2 separate regions of the Homo sapiens genome follow, and region 1 is linked to region 2. The links are contacts of gene promoters, found by promoter capture Hi-C in blood cells and fetal thymus (Javierre and others, 2016). All regions are on one chromosome and are shown on one strand. The core of a region is centred on a gene start or on the middle of the fragment in contact, and the rest is flanking DNA. Distances in the headings are between cores, read along the strand shown. Region 1 overlaps KPNB1 (karyopherin subunit beta 1). Region 2 holds the start of OSBPL7 (oxysterol binding protein like 7).

What was found. Contacts are between HindIII fragments. The CHiCAGO score rates a contact against its expected background, and 5 or more counts as called.
Region 1: a contact is called between a fragment that was not itself captured here and the fragment with the promoter of OSBPL7 in region 2, in 5 of 17 cell types (M2 macrophages, total CD8 T cells, activated CD4 T cells and 2 more). The highest score is 9.6, in M2 macrophages.

What each region holds. Positions count from the first base shown.
Region 1 is chr17:47,658,862-47,664,866 of GRCh38, forward strand. KPNB1 (karyopherin subunit beta 1) reads left to right here. Exons shown (of 22, transcript NM_002265.6): 6 at 2,258-2,317; 7 at 4,228-4,317; 8 at 5,298-5,408. Among named protein-coding and RNA genes, the nearest start is that of KPNB1, 12 kb to the left of the region's middle. RefSeq lists enhancers at 1,297-1,446, 4,978-5,047. The HindIII fragment of the contact is 5,386 bases long and covers 13-5,398 here.
Region 2 is chr17:47,818,644-47,824,258 of GRCh38, forward strand. OSBPL7 (oxysterol binding protein like 7) reads right to left here and starts at 3,151. Exons shown (of 23, transcript NM_145798.3): 1 at 3,023-3,151; 2 at 1,561-1,722; 3 at 1,328-1,453; 4 at 1,086-1,139; 5 at 343-456. The coding sequence starts at 1,635. It overlaps MRPL10 (mitochondrial ribosomal protein L10), which reads right to left. Exons shown (of 5, transcript NM_145255.4): 5 at 4,629-5,615. The coding sequence ends at 5,562. RefSeq lists a silencer at 3,114-3,329 and an enhancer at 3,440-3,609. The HindIII fragment of the contact is 20,101 bases long and covers 1-5,615 here.

The DNA.
Region 1 (6,005 bases), core at 1,456-3,955, 160 kb before region 2:
AAAGTGTTTCTAAGCTTAGGTTTTTCCTTTTGCAGTCCAAAGTGTGGAATGTTGTTGGGTTTTTTTAAATTATAGGGCATGGTGGTGCATACTGGTACTCCAGCTACTTCAGAGGCTAAGGCGGGAGGATTGCTTGAGTCCAGTTATTCAAGGCCAGCCTGGGCAACAAAGTCAGATATCGTCCCTTAAAAAAAAGAAAGGAATAGGCTGGGCGATGTGGCTTAAGCCTGTAATCCCAGCACTTTGGGAGGCTGAGGCGGGTGGATCATCAGGTCAGGAGTTTGAGACCAGCCTGACGAACATGGTGAAACCCCATCTCTACTAAAAATACAAAAAAATTAGCCGGGTGTGGTGGCGTGCGCCTGTAATCCCAGCTACTCAGGAGGCTGAGGCAGGAGAATCACTTGAACCTGGGAGGCAGAGGTTGCAGTGAGCCGAGATTGCAGCACTGTATTCCAGCCTGGGCGACAGAGCAAGACTGTCTCAAAAAAAATAAAAAATAAAAAAAATAAAAGAAAGAAATTATGGTATGTACTATATATGTTGGTTTACTTTGGTTTCTTTTAAGATTGTGTGAATCTTTTGCCTTGTACTAAAGATTTTGTGGAGGCCGGGTGCTGGGGCTCACATCCAGTAATCCCAACACTTTGGGCCACCAAGGCAAGAGGATCACTTGAAGCCAGGAGTTTGAGACTAGCCTGTGCAACGTAACAAAACCCTGTCTCTAAAAAAATTTCTGTGGAGAAGAACAACTGAGTTGTTAACCAGTTTTGTGAGCTCTTGTGTTTACAGGGCTTATAATGGAAAAAAAATAATGAAAAATGAAATAAATAAAAATTATAGCAATTGGTCTGTTTCATACCACCTTAGGAAGGTGTTTTTAAGAAACAGGATATATAGCCAGGTGCTTTGGCACATGCCTGTAATCCCAGCTACTTGGGAAGCTGAGGTGGGAGGATCACTTGAGCCTGGGAGTTCAAGGCTCAAGATTTCACCACTGTACTTCAGCCTGGGCAACAGTGCAAGACTCTGTCTCCAAAAAAAAAAAATATATATATATGTATATGTATGTGTATGTATAATATATATGTAAACATTTTGGCTGAAAATGCAATGAATAACATAAAATTTACCATCTTAAATCATTTTTAAATGTATAGTTAGTTAAGTAGATTCACATTGCTGTGGAAACAATCTCCAGAACTTTTTCATCTTGCAAAACTGAAACTGTACATACTGAACAACAACTCCTCATTTCCCCCTTTCTCAGCCACTGGTAACGACCATTTTACTTTCAGTTTCTATGTATTTTACTACTCTAACGAAATACCTTACGTAAGTGGAATCATATTTGTCTTTTTGCGACTGGTTTGTTTTACTTAGTATGATGTCCTCGAGATTCATCTAAGGGGTAGCATTTGTCAAAATTGGCTTTTTAAGGGTGATTAATATTCCATTATATGTATATGCCACATTTTGTTTATCTAGTCTTCCATCCATGGCCATTTGGTTTGCATCCACCTTTTGGCTATTGTGGGTAATGCTGCTATGAACATGGGCATGCATGTGTATCTTTGAGACTCTGCTTTCAGTTCTTTAGGGTAAATACCGACAAGTAAAATTGCCAGGGTCATGGTCTGAAAGTATTTCTGTATATATGTTTGTTGACACTTCAGCTGGGTTTTTACCATTTCTTGACTTTGGAAAGGTCTGAAACCCCAGAGCAAATGGCAATTCTAATTGATTAGAAAACTGGATTTTTCCTTAATAGATTTTGGAAGATTTAGGAGGGTAGCACATAAAGTTCATTCTCCCTTTTCTCACCACATTTGATGTGAATTTGCTACCTCTCAGAAAACAAATTTGGTCTCTGAAATAAAGCAGATGTTTTGAATTCTCTTATATAAGGAAACTGATTTTCCTACATGTAAATTTTTATCTTTTAACCATTTTTATTTAAAACTTGTGACCTACATTTTTCTGTTTCCTCCCTGAAGTCTTTGTTAGTGGTCATTTTGGAGATTAAAAGATTAGGGACCTCATTGGAGGGCAAGTCACATAGCAGACACCGAAGGTAAACTCTTTATAGCCTTTATAGTGCTGTACCATCTCAAGGGAGAGTGGCTTGATTGTACCAGGCAGGGCTGTGTGGGGCCCTGAGGGGGAGTGAGAGGTTTTCCTTGTAGAGGGAGTCTGGAAATCTTCCTACGTACAGGTTATGCTCTCCTAATTCTCTTTATTTTTATTCCTCCTACAGTCTGAAAGGCACTTTATTATGCAGGTGGTCTGTGAAGCCACACAGTGTCCAGATACGAGGGTAAGTGTGAGGTTATATGAAAAATCTGTCTTACATCTTTCTTAGGAAATGTCAAATCTAATATAAGTTTGAAATACTGGGAATCAGTTGACTTCAGCAATAAGGTTTGATTAATATTGTTACTAATAATTAATATTCTGGCTGGGCATGGTGGCTCACACCTGTAATCCCAGCACTTAGGGAGGCCATGGCAGGCAGTTCACCTGAGGTTAGGAGTTTCATACCAGTCTGGCCAACATGGTGAAACCCTGTCTCTACTAAAAATAAAAAAAAATTAGCTGGGTGTGGTGGCACGTGCCTGTAGTCCCAGCTGCTGGGGAGGCTGAGGTACAAGAATCGCTTGAACCTGGGAGGTGGAGGTTGCAGTGAGCCAAGATCATGCCACTGCAAACAGACTCCATCTCAAAAAATAATAATGATAATTAATAAAAACATTAGAGAAGAGGGAAGAATTGTCATGGAAGTTGCCATCCTCTTAAAAAAGGTTTAAGGTGCCAGTGTGGTGGCTCACACTATAATCCCAGCAATTTGGGAGGCCAAAGCAGGAGGATCACTGAGGTCAGGAGTTGGAGACCAAACTGGGCAACATAGTGACACCATCTCTACTAAAAAATATGTATACACAAATAAACAGTTAAGGGAGAAAAGGTTTTCGATCAGCTTCGCTACTTCATTGCCGTAGGTTATTCAAGCCATTTCTACTAAAAAATATATATACACAAACAGTTAAGGGAGAAAAGGTTTTTGATCAGCTTTGCTACTTTATTGCCATAGGTTATTCAAGTGATTGTTTTCCCCTGTAGCCATTAAAGCAGCTTTGCTATTGCTATACCCAAAACCTGACCCTTCAAGAAGATAGAAGTAATATCTTCAGTCTGAATAGTATTAGTGAATTTAGCCGTACCATGGGTTCCACACGCACCTTTAATGCAAAAAAAAAGACTGAGGCCAGGCGCGGTGGCTTACGCCTGTAATCCCAACACTTTACAGGCGCATGTCTGTAATCCAGCTACTCAGGAGGCTGAGGCAGGAGAATTGCTTGAACCCGGGAGGCGGAGGTTGTAGTGAGCTGAGATCACACCACTGCACTCCAGCCTGGGAGACTCCATCTCAAAAAAAAAAAGGACTGGCTGTGGTGGCTCACACCTATAATACCAGCACTTTGGGAGACCGAGGCCAGAGGATCACTTGAGCCCAGGAGTTGGAGACCAGTCTGGGCAACATGGCGAAACTCCATGTCCACAAAGATTAGCTGTGCGTGATGGGGCGAGCCTGTAGTCCTAGCTACGTGGGAGGCTGAAGTGGGAGGATTGCTTGAGCCTGGTGGTTGAGGCTGCAGTGAGCCGTGATCATGGCCACTATACTTGCACCAGGGCGACAGAGCAAGAAGACTGTCTCAAAAAAAAAAAAAAGAGAAAAATGGCCGGGCGCAGTGGCTCACACCTTTAATCCTAGCACTTTAGGTGGCCGAGGTGAGTGGATTGTCTGAGCTCAGGAGTTCGAGATGAGCCTGGTCAACATAGCAAAACCCCGTCTCTACTAAAAATACAAAAAATTAGCCGGGCATGGTGGCGGGCACCTGTAGTCCCAGCTACTTGGAAGGCTGAGGCACGAGAATTGCTTGAATCGGGGAGGCAGAGGTTGCAGTGAGCCAAGATCATGCCACTGCACTCCAGCCTGGGCAACAGGAGCGGAACTCTGTCCCTTCCCCGAAAAAGAGAGACAAAATGGGAAAATAAAGGAACAGATAATGAGGGAATTAAAGGGAGAGAATGAATTTTAGGGAAATGATAACGTATCCCATATTTACCTCAATTAATCCTTAGGATTATTGGCCCATTTGAGTGAATCTAACTTTGTCAGATTGCGTTGTTATTTTAGTAAACTATCTGATCTGCTGTTCATAAAAGGTACGAGTGGCTGCTTTACAGAATCTGGTGAAGATAATGTCCTTATATTATCAGTACATGGAGACATATATGGGTCCTGCTCTTTTTGCAGTAAGTATTTCTATTTATGTGATTTGAGCTTGTGGCTAATTACAGAGCCCATCATCCTTAGTCGCTATTTTGCCAATTCTGTAATATTTTACTTAATACTATGGAATCAAGGAAATTCCTCGAGACTGTTCGGTTTAAGCTCATCAGTGGTGTGCCAAGAAAACTGGTGCTAACTTTGTGTGGGTAAAAGACCTTCATTTTGAGGTCAGGCCCGGTGGCTAACGCCTGTAATCCCAGCACTTTGGAAGGCTGAGGTGGGCAGATCACCTGAGGTCAGGAGTTCGAGACCAGCCTGGCCAATATGGTGAAACCCCGTCTATACTGAAAACACAAAAATTAGCTGAACGTGGTGGCACGTGCCTGTAATCCCAGCTACTCTGGAGGCTGAGGCTGGAGAATCGCTTGAACCCAGGAGACGGAGGGTGCAGTGAGCCAAGATCACGCCATTGCACTCCAACCTGGGCCAGAAAGCGAGACTCTGTCTCAAAAAGAAAAAAGAAACAACCTGCATTTTGAAAATCTGAGGCTGGGCATGGTGGCTCACGCCTGTAATCCCAGCAGTTTGGGAGGCTGAGACTGACAGATCGCTTGAGTCCAGGAGTTTGAGACCAGCCTAGGCAATATGGTGAAACCCCGCCTCTACAAAAAATACAAAAATAAGCTGGGTGAGGTGGCATGCACTTGTGGTCCCACCTATGGAGGAGGCTGGGGTGGGAGGTTTGTTTGAGCCTGGGAGGTGGAGGTTGCAGTAAGCTGAGATTGTGCTGCTGTACTCCAGCCTGTGTGACAGAGTGAGACCCCATCACCAAAAAAAAAAAAAAGAAAAGAAAATCTTTCTTTTCCTATCTTTTCTTTCAAGCCTAGCTTCCTTTTTATAGTTACATTTCTGAAATTTGCATGTCTGTGGTTAAAGCCGGGTTGGGGCAGGGACTCACTTGAATCAGTACTTATTTGGGGCCTGGGGTGTTTTTCTTCTTAAGATCACAATCGAAGCAATGAAAAGTGACATTGATGAGGTGGCTTTACAAGGGATAGAATTCTGGTCCAATGTCTGTGATGAGGAAATGGATTTGGCCATTGAAGCTTCAGAGGTGAGCTGGGGAGAACTATTACTCTGAATACGCTTTGGGACATATCTCATTTGTGGATGATGTTCCCCTTCTAGGAGAACTTTATTCTGTCTGGGTTTAGAGGGTATCTCCATTGGCAGAGATTTTGATTTTTCTGCTAGCCAGAGCCCTTCATGAAGGAGGCACATCAGTAATGAGGGCTCACGTTCTTGCCAAGCAGTCAGGCATGATTGATCGTAAATAGTGGTATTATCACTGTGAACACAAGGGGGCAGCAGGCTGTCGCAGTTTACCAAGGTGATGCCTGATGCTGAATTATTTCCTTTTGGAAGTCCTAATGCAAGCCTAGGATGTATAATTGATACTTTACTAACTCTGGTGAAAGAGTCAGATATGGAAGAGAATGGGGAGTTCTGTACTTGGGATCTTTGAATTCAAGTTTTGTTTCCAGCTTGGTCTTTACACACTTTTATTTCAGGACAAAAATAAAAAGGTTTTTTTTGGCATCTTTAGGCAAACTGAGTGTGTGTTGATCCAAGGAACACTGAAATATCAGGTTGTCCATATGAATTGAACTTATGAAAAAAAAGTTATACTTAATGTTGCCTTGGACCTATA
Region 2 (5,615 bases), core at 1,901-4,400:
CTATCTGAAGAGAGGGACCACTTTCCAAGAGCAAGAAGTCAGGGCTCTGGTCCCCAGACAAGCAGGGTCTCTTCTTACAGAGCCTGGTTTGTGCAAGGCTCACTTGCAGGGAGACAGAGCGCAAGGCGCCCAGGTGTCTGAGCCCTTAGCTCTGTGCCTGTCCATACAACAACCAAGAAGTGCAGGTTTGCCCTTGGCTGTTTTTACAGGATGGAAACTTACTTTTTGTCAAACTCAGAGACAGACCCTGAGTTCCACAGACCCTCAGCCCCTGCCCCTGTGTGTTCCAATGCCTCTGTCAGGTTGGGGGCCAACACACGTCCTGCCTCCCAGGGATGTCACCTTGAGGTGGTAGATGTTGTCTTCAGTGTCAAGGTCAATGCGCTGGGCCTTTTTGTTGATGGACATGACCGACAGCCGGACATCGATGGAGCCATGGAGCTTCCCCTTGGTGATCTGGGGGTGAAGTGTTGGTAGAGGGAGAGGGGACCTGTTTTAGGCTCTCAGAGCCATAGAGCCACCATCTCCCTGATGCCATTCTAGGCTCAAGGGCCAGGTGGCAGGTTCACCCTCATGTCCAAGTCACACTATCAGTAGAGACTTGTCAATCATCCTCCCATGTGCAGAACGCTCCCCTACGTCAAGTCACATCTTGGTCTCTAAGAAGTCACAGATCAAGAAAAACTATTCCCACCCTCAGGGGTCTGCAGGGTTGTGGAAGGCAACACCCTCCCAGAGAGATCCTGGGTACCCAGGCCTTCAGTTCCTTGTTCCCAGCCTGAGAATGGGACCAGGATGAGGGTGGTAAAGCCCCCATTTCTTGGGCACTTATTCTGCCCTGTCCAGAGAGCCTTGTACGTATGACCTCCCTTACCATGACAGCTCTGCACCTGGGGGATGGTGCTCTCCCATTAGAGGTGAGGAAGCTATGGCCCAGGGATGTAACTTGCCCGAGATCACACATTCAGCAAGTGGTGGACCTGGGATTCAGACCCTGCTCTGGTCGATTCCAGATACCCCATGCCTGCCCAGGGCATACTGGGGCCAGACTCCTCCCACAACCCCAAGCCACTGCCCGGGCTCACGTCTTGCCGGGTTGTTGCATAATGAAGGATCCCGTCCTCGAGCACAAAGTATCTCTGTGATGTTGCCCAGGAGTGACAGGACCCGGGAGGCCGAGAGGAAGGGCATGAGGGAGAAGGCAACCACACAAATTAGCTTTTCTTTTCCTTCTCATCATGCAAACACCATTGGACTGCCCAGCAGCTGCCCCCCATTCCCACCCCGCCCCCCATGTCTGGACCCTCCCTTTGCCTGCCCACCCTACCTTGTGCCAGCCCTTCAGAGGCCACTTCCTCTTCTTGAGCAGGTGACCTTCCTGCCTCTCAGGCATGACACCCTCTGTCCCCAGCCTGACCCGAGGCTCCTCCACCACCTCCCACAGCTCAGAGGCCTGCAGTCCAGGACAGAGGGAGGGGAGCACTGGTGAGACGTCCGCCTTGGCCCCTCCCTGTCTGGTTCCAGCTTGGCCCACCCACCACCGCTTTCCCACTCTCTGACCTGCTGAGCACTGCTGGGCTTTGAGGACTGAGCGCTCTCAGGCAGGAAGGGCGGGTCCCTCTCTTGGAAGTCCATGGAGAAGGGAGAGGCCACTCCCTGCTGGGGATGTAGAGCAGGGAGCAGGGTGGAAGGGGAAGGATGTCACCTGCTCCTGACGGGGTCCTTGAAGCAAGAGAAAGACCCCCTTAACGCAAACTCTGCTATCACCTTCCCCACCTCCAGCCCCTCCCACACCCTCTGAGATAAGGGCTCCCCAACATACCCTCTGCTCACCTGCCAAGCCTCTCCCAAGTCTGCCCCTCTGTCCCGACCCCACCCATTTTCACCTGATATGGACACTGCCCTGAGAGTGAACTAGCACACAGCAGACGGGCAGGTGCCCAGGGAAAACCACAAGACATATGCCCAGCCCCGCCTTGGGCACATACTCTGGGGCTCCAAGAAACATTCAGTGCTTTCTTTAGAGGCTTCCCTGGGAGTGCTCAGAGGTGAAGCAAGGGAGTGACAGAAGAGGCTCCAAGAAGAGACAGAGGGGTTCAGAGACTGGACAAGCGAGACCTCCTCAATCCAGCTGCCTCTGCCTTCAGGACCCCTCCACCCTGCCACCGTAGCTCAGAGACTTCTCTGCCATGATCTTGCAGAAAACTCCCCAGCCTCCCACCAATTAATCTCCATATTATCTAGTGCTTGGAGAAACTGAGGCCTGAGATAGCCCCCATTTTCCCATGTCTCCTCCCACCAAACATGCCCCTAGGATGCCCTTTTTGGACCCTCAGTACCCCCTAAAGCCTCACCATCCCCTGTCTACCCTCACAGTCCTTGGGGCTCTGAGAAGTGCCACCCACCCAGAGAGGGCAGGACATTGGGCTAAAGGAGATACTTCATGAGAGAAGAGGGGGCCCAGGACATGCCCAGGTCTGCACAGGTCCTGCAGCAGTGCCCACAGGCACCCTTGGCACTGGCCCTGGCCATCCTGGCTCCACCGGGAGATCAATAATGCATGAGGCTCTGCATGTGTGAGACGGGGGAGGGGACTGGAGGGGCGAGGCTGGTTTGAGGTGGGGGAAGCAGCCCAGATCTTCTAATGGAGCTAGCAAGCACCTGAGGAACTGAGGCCCAGAGGGGACAGGGATGTGGCAGGAACGGGTGCCCAGGAGGTTGGGGCAGAGGGACCCTTGCTGCAAGAGGCTGACCTGGGAGGAAACTCCTGCATTCAGCCATTGAAAGTTCTCAAACTCTTCCGGTGTTCAGGTATCTCTGGGCCCTTCTCCCGGCCCTGTGGGGATCCTGGCCCCTCACTGCTTGTGGGTAGAGGGGGAGGCTCTATCGGTAGGCAGGTGAAGGGTCTAGGTGAGCCAGGTGGGTGCCCCCTCTCCACCTCTATTCAGGAGCAGACCCACCAGCTTCAGGTGGGAGGAAGCTCTTCTCAGGAATGTCAGCTGCTGCCACGCAGCCCCCTTACCCCAGGGTCCATGGACGCCAGTACTCCTTGGCCCTTGCGCCGCTCTGCCTCTGAGTCACCGTCTCCGAGTCACCGGCTCCCTCCTCACCGCGCTGAGCAGTGGCAGCAGCTGCTGCAGGAACCAGGAAGGAAGGAGATGTCAGAGCCTCCCCTCTAGCCGGATCTCCCCACCTCCCTCTCCCCTGTCCCCTCCTCCCGCCAAGCTCCGGGCAGCCGCTCAGCTCTGCCCCCCTGCTCCCCGGAGGACTCAGGGCTGAGCAGACTGCCCTAGCATCGATGTGGCTTGGGAGTGGGGGCACAGTCCCTGCTGGGCATGGTTCCAGATAGATCAGAGGACTGGGGAACTGTTGGCTGTACGCCAGTGGTGATAAAGGATTTATTCAGACTAGCATGGCAGTGACCCTGTTAGTACCCAAGGCCAATTCCTAATTAACCCCCGCCCCCCGCCTCTCATTTTACATCTGAAAATAGACTGCAAAATTTGGAGCCAGCAAAAGTATCAGGTTGATGGTGGAGGGACAGATGCCCCCTCTGGGACCATAAGAGAGTGCCAAGAGCACAGTCAGCAGGGGCAGTCAAGCCAGGAAAGGGACAGCCAGCAGTCCCCACACTGAGGCCCTTCACTGGGGTGATGCCCCACTAGGTCAGGCCCCATGGAGATCTGAAAGTGCTTGTGTGTATGAAGACACCCCACAGCCTGCAGTCTCTGATCAGGAGCAGGCCTGGGGCAGTCACAGCTGCCGTTAAAAGGGCTGCAATGCTGGTCCCCTCCCTTCCCTTTACCCTTCTGCTGGAGTACTGTGCCCAGCTGCTCAATTCTAATGAAAAATCGGCTCTTAACAAAGATCTAAAATTCATTCAAATGAATGTGGCATAGACCTACAGTTTCAAGCGCAGCTAAGTTTTCTGGAAAGAAGTAGGTGGGGCCTCAGGTGAAGGATGTGATTCAAGTTTCTTCTCTGACCCCAAAAGTGACATGGGCCACTTATCCCTTCCACTTCATCCTCACCGAGCTTGGTTTACGTTTCAGGGTCTCACATATCTCTCGGGAACACCCACTGTCTTGCCTTTATTCAGAGCCTCAGTGCTGCTCCAGCCACCCCAGGAGGAGGGTGTTGTTAGCACCTGGCAGGGTTCTGGGAGGGACAGGAGCACTGGGCAGCACTGACCAGACAAGCTCTGGCATCCAGGAGCCTCAAGGGCCTTTTAAGCCACTTCCCAGTGATTGAACATCCCTGGGCATACAGCACAGGATGAGGCACTGGGGGAAGCTGGTCCTGGCCCAGGCCACAAAAGAGCTGCTGCAGGTCATCCCTGCCAGACAGTGCCTGTCCAAGACTAAGGAAGCGGTGGCATTGCTTCAAGTCCGAGAAGGAATGTTGAACAGCCACCTTCCCCGGGTCACCCCTGCATCCACCCAGAATGTGCTCCAGTCAAGGATGATGGTGGACTCTGAGTTAAGCATCCCGTCTCCTTTATTAGGAATTTCTGGTTCATGAAGACTTGCATGAGGCCTCCTACCCTAGAGCTCTCAGAATTCCCCATTAATAGAGAATCCTAGTTTTCCCGCAGGCCTTTTGTCCAGAACCACCAGAGACACGTTAGCTAGTGGGTACAGCTGTCAGCTGCCTTTAATAGGGCAAGCATGCGCGGGATGCCATTTGTGGGAACAGGTATAGGGGAAGAGGATTTTCCTAGGAAGGGAAGCAAGAGTGAGGAAAGTCAGATGACAGAGAAGCCCCTGAGAGTAAGTTTAGAGGGAGGACAACCGTGTAAACCACAAAATAAAGGAAGTAGAATATATTTCATTTTATTATAAAGCAGTGCTCCCAAACTTTTCACAGCGTACACCTCGAGGGTGGAGAACTAACATCCAAGCACACCTGGATGGTGGATGGGACCCACTTCTGGGTAACCTGATGAGGAAGCTCTAGTGAAGAAATTCAGGACGCGGTCTTCAGAGCAGAGGGCTTGGTTCAAGTCCCTGTTCTGCCACTTACTAACTGCATGACCTTGAGCAAGCCACTTAATTTCTCTGCTCCTTCTCTGTGAAATGGGTACAATGTGGTCAGCAGTAAAGGAACTAATACATGTACAGCACTCAGCACAAAGCCTGGCACACAGCAGGCTCTCACCAGGTGCCATTCTCAGCACAACTGCTTGGTTGAGCTACTGTGGCAGTGGCAGGTTGTGCCCCAAGGGGGTGGGCTCAGGAGCCCGTGCAGCAAGAGGCAGTGACCAAGGAGGCAGGGGACAATAGCCCTATCTTTTCAGGATCTCTGCCTTGGACCTGGAGAATGGAGAGACTTTGCTCCTATCACGTCCCAAGTTGGGAAAACTAAGGACGAAGCCGGTGACTGACATCTGAAATGGAATCCTCTGCATCTCCAAGTGGCCCTATACCTGACAATATCATTACTAGTGAAAACCAAGTGACAAACACACTCCCCGACCCCAAGTTCTTCCACATGTCCCATTGAGGAGAGCACAGCCAATAACGCAGAGTGTATTTATGCGCAGGGCTGGCTAAACAGGCTGGCTACGAGTCCGGAACAGTGTCAGGATCTGGCTTCCCATTGGCCGACATGACAGA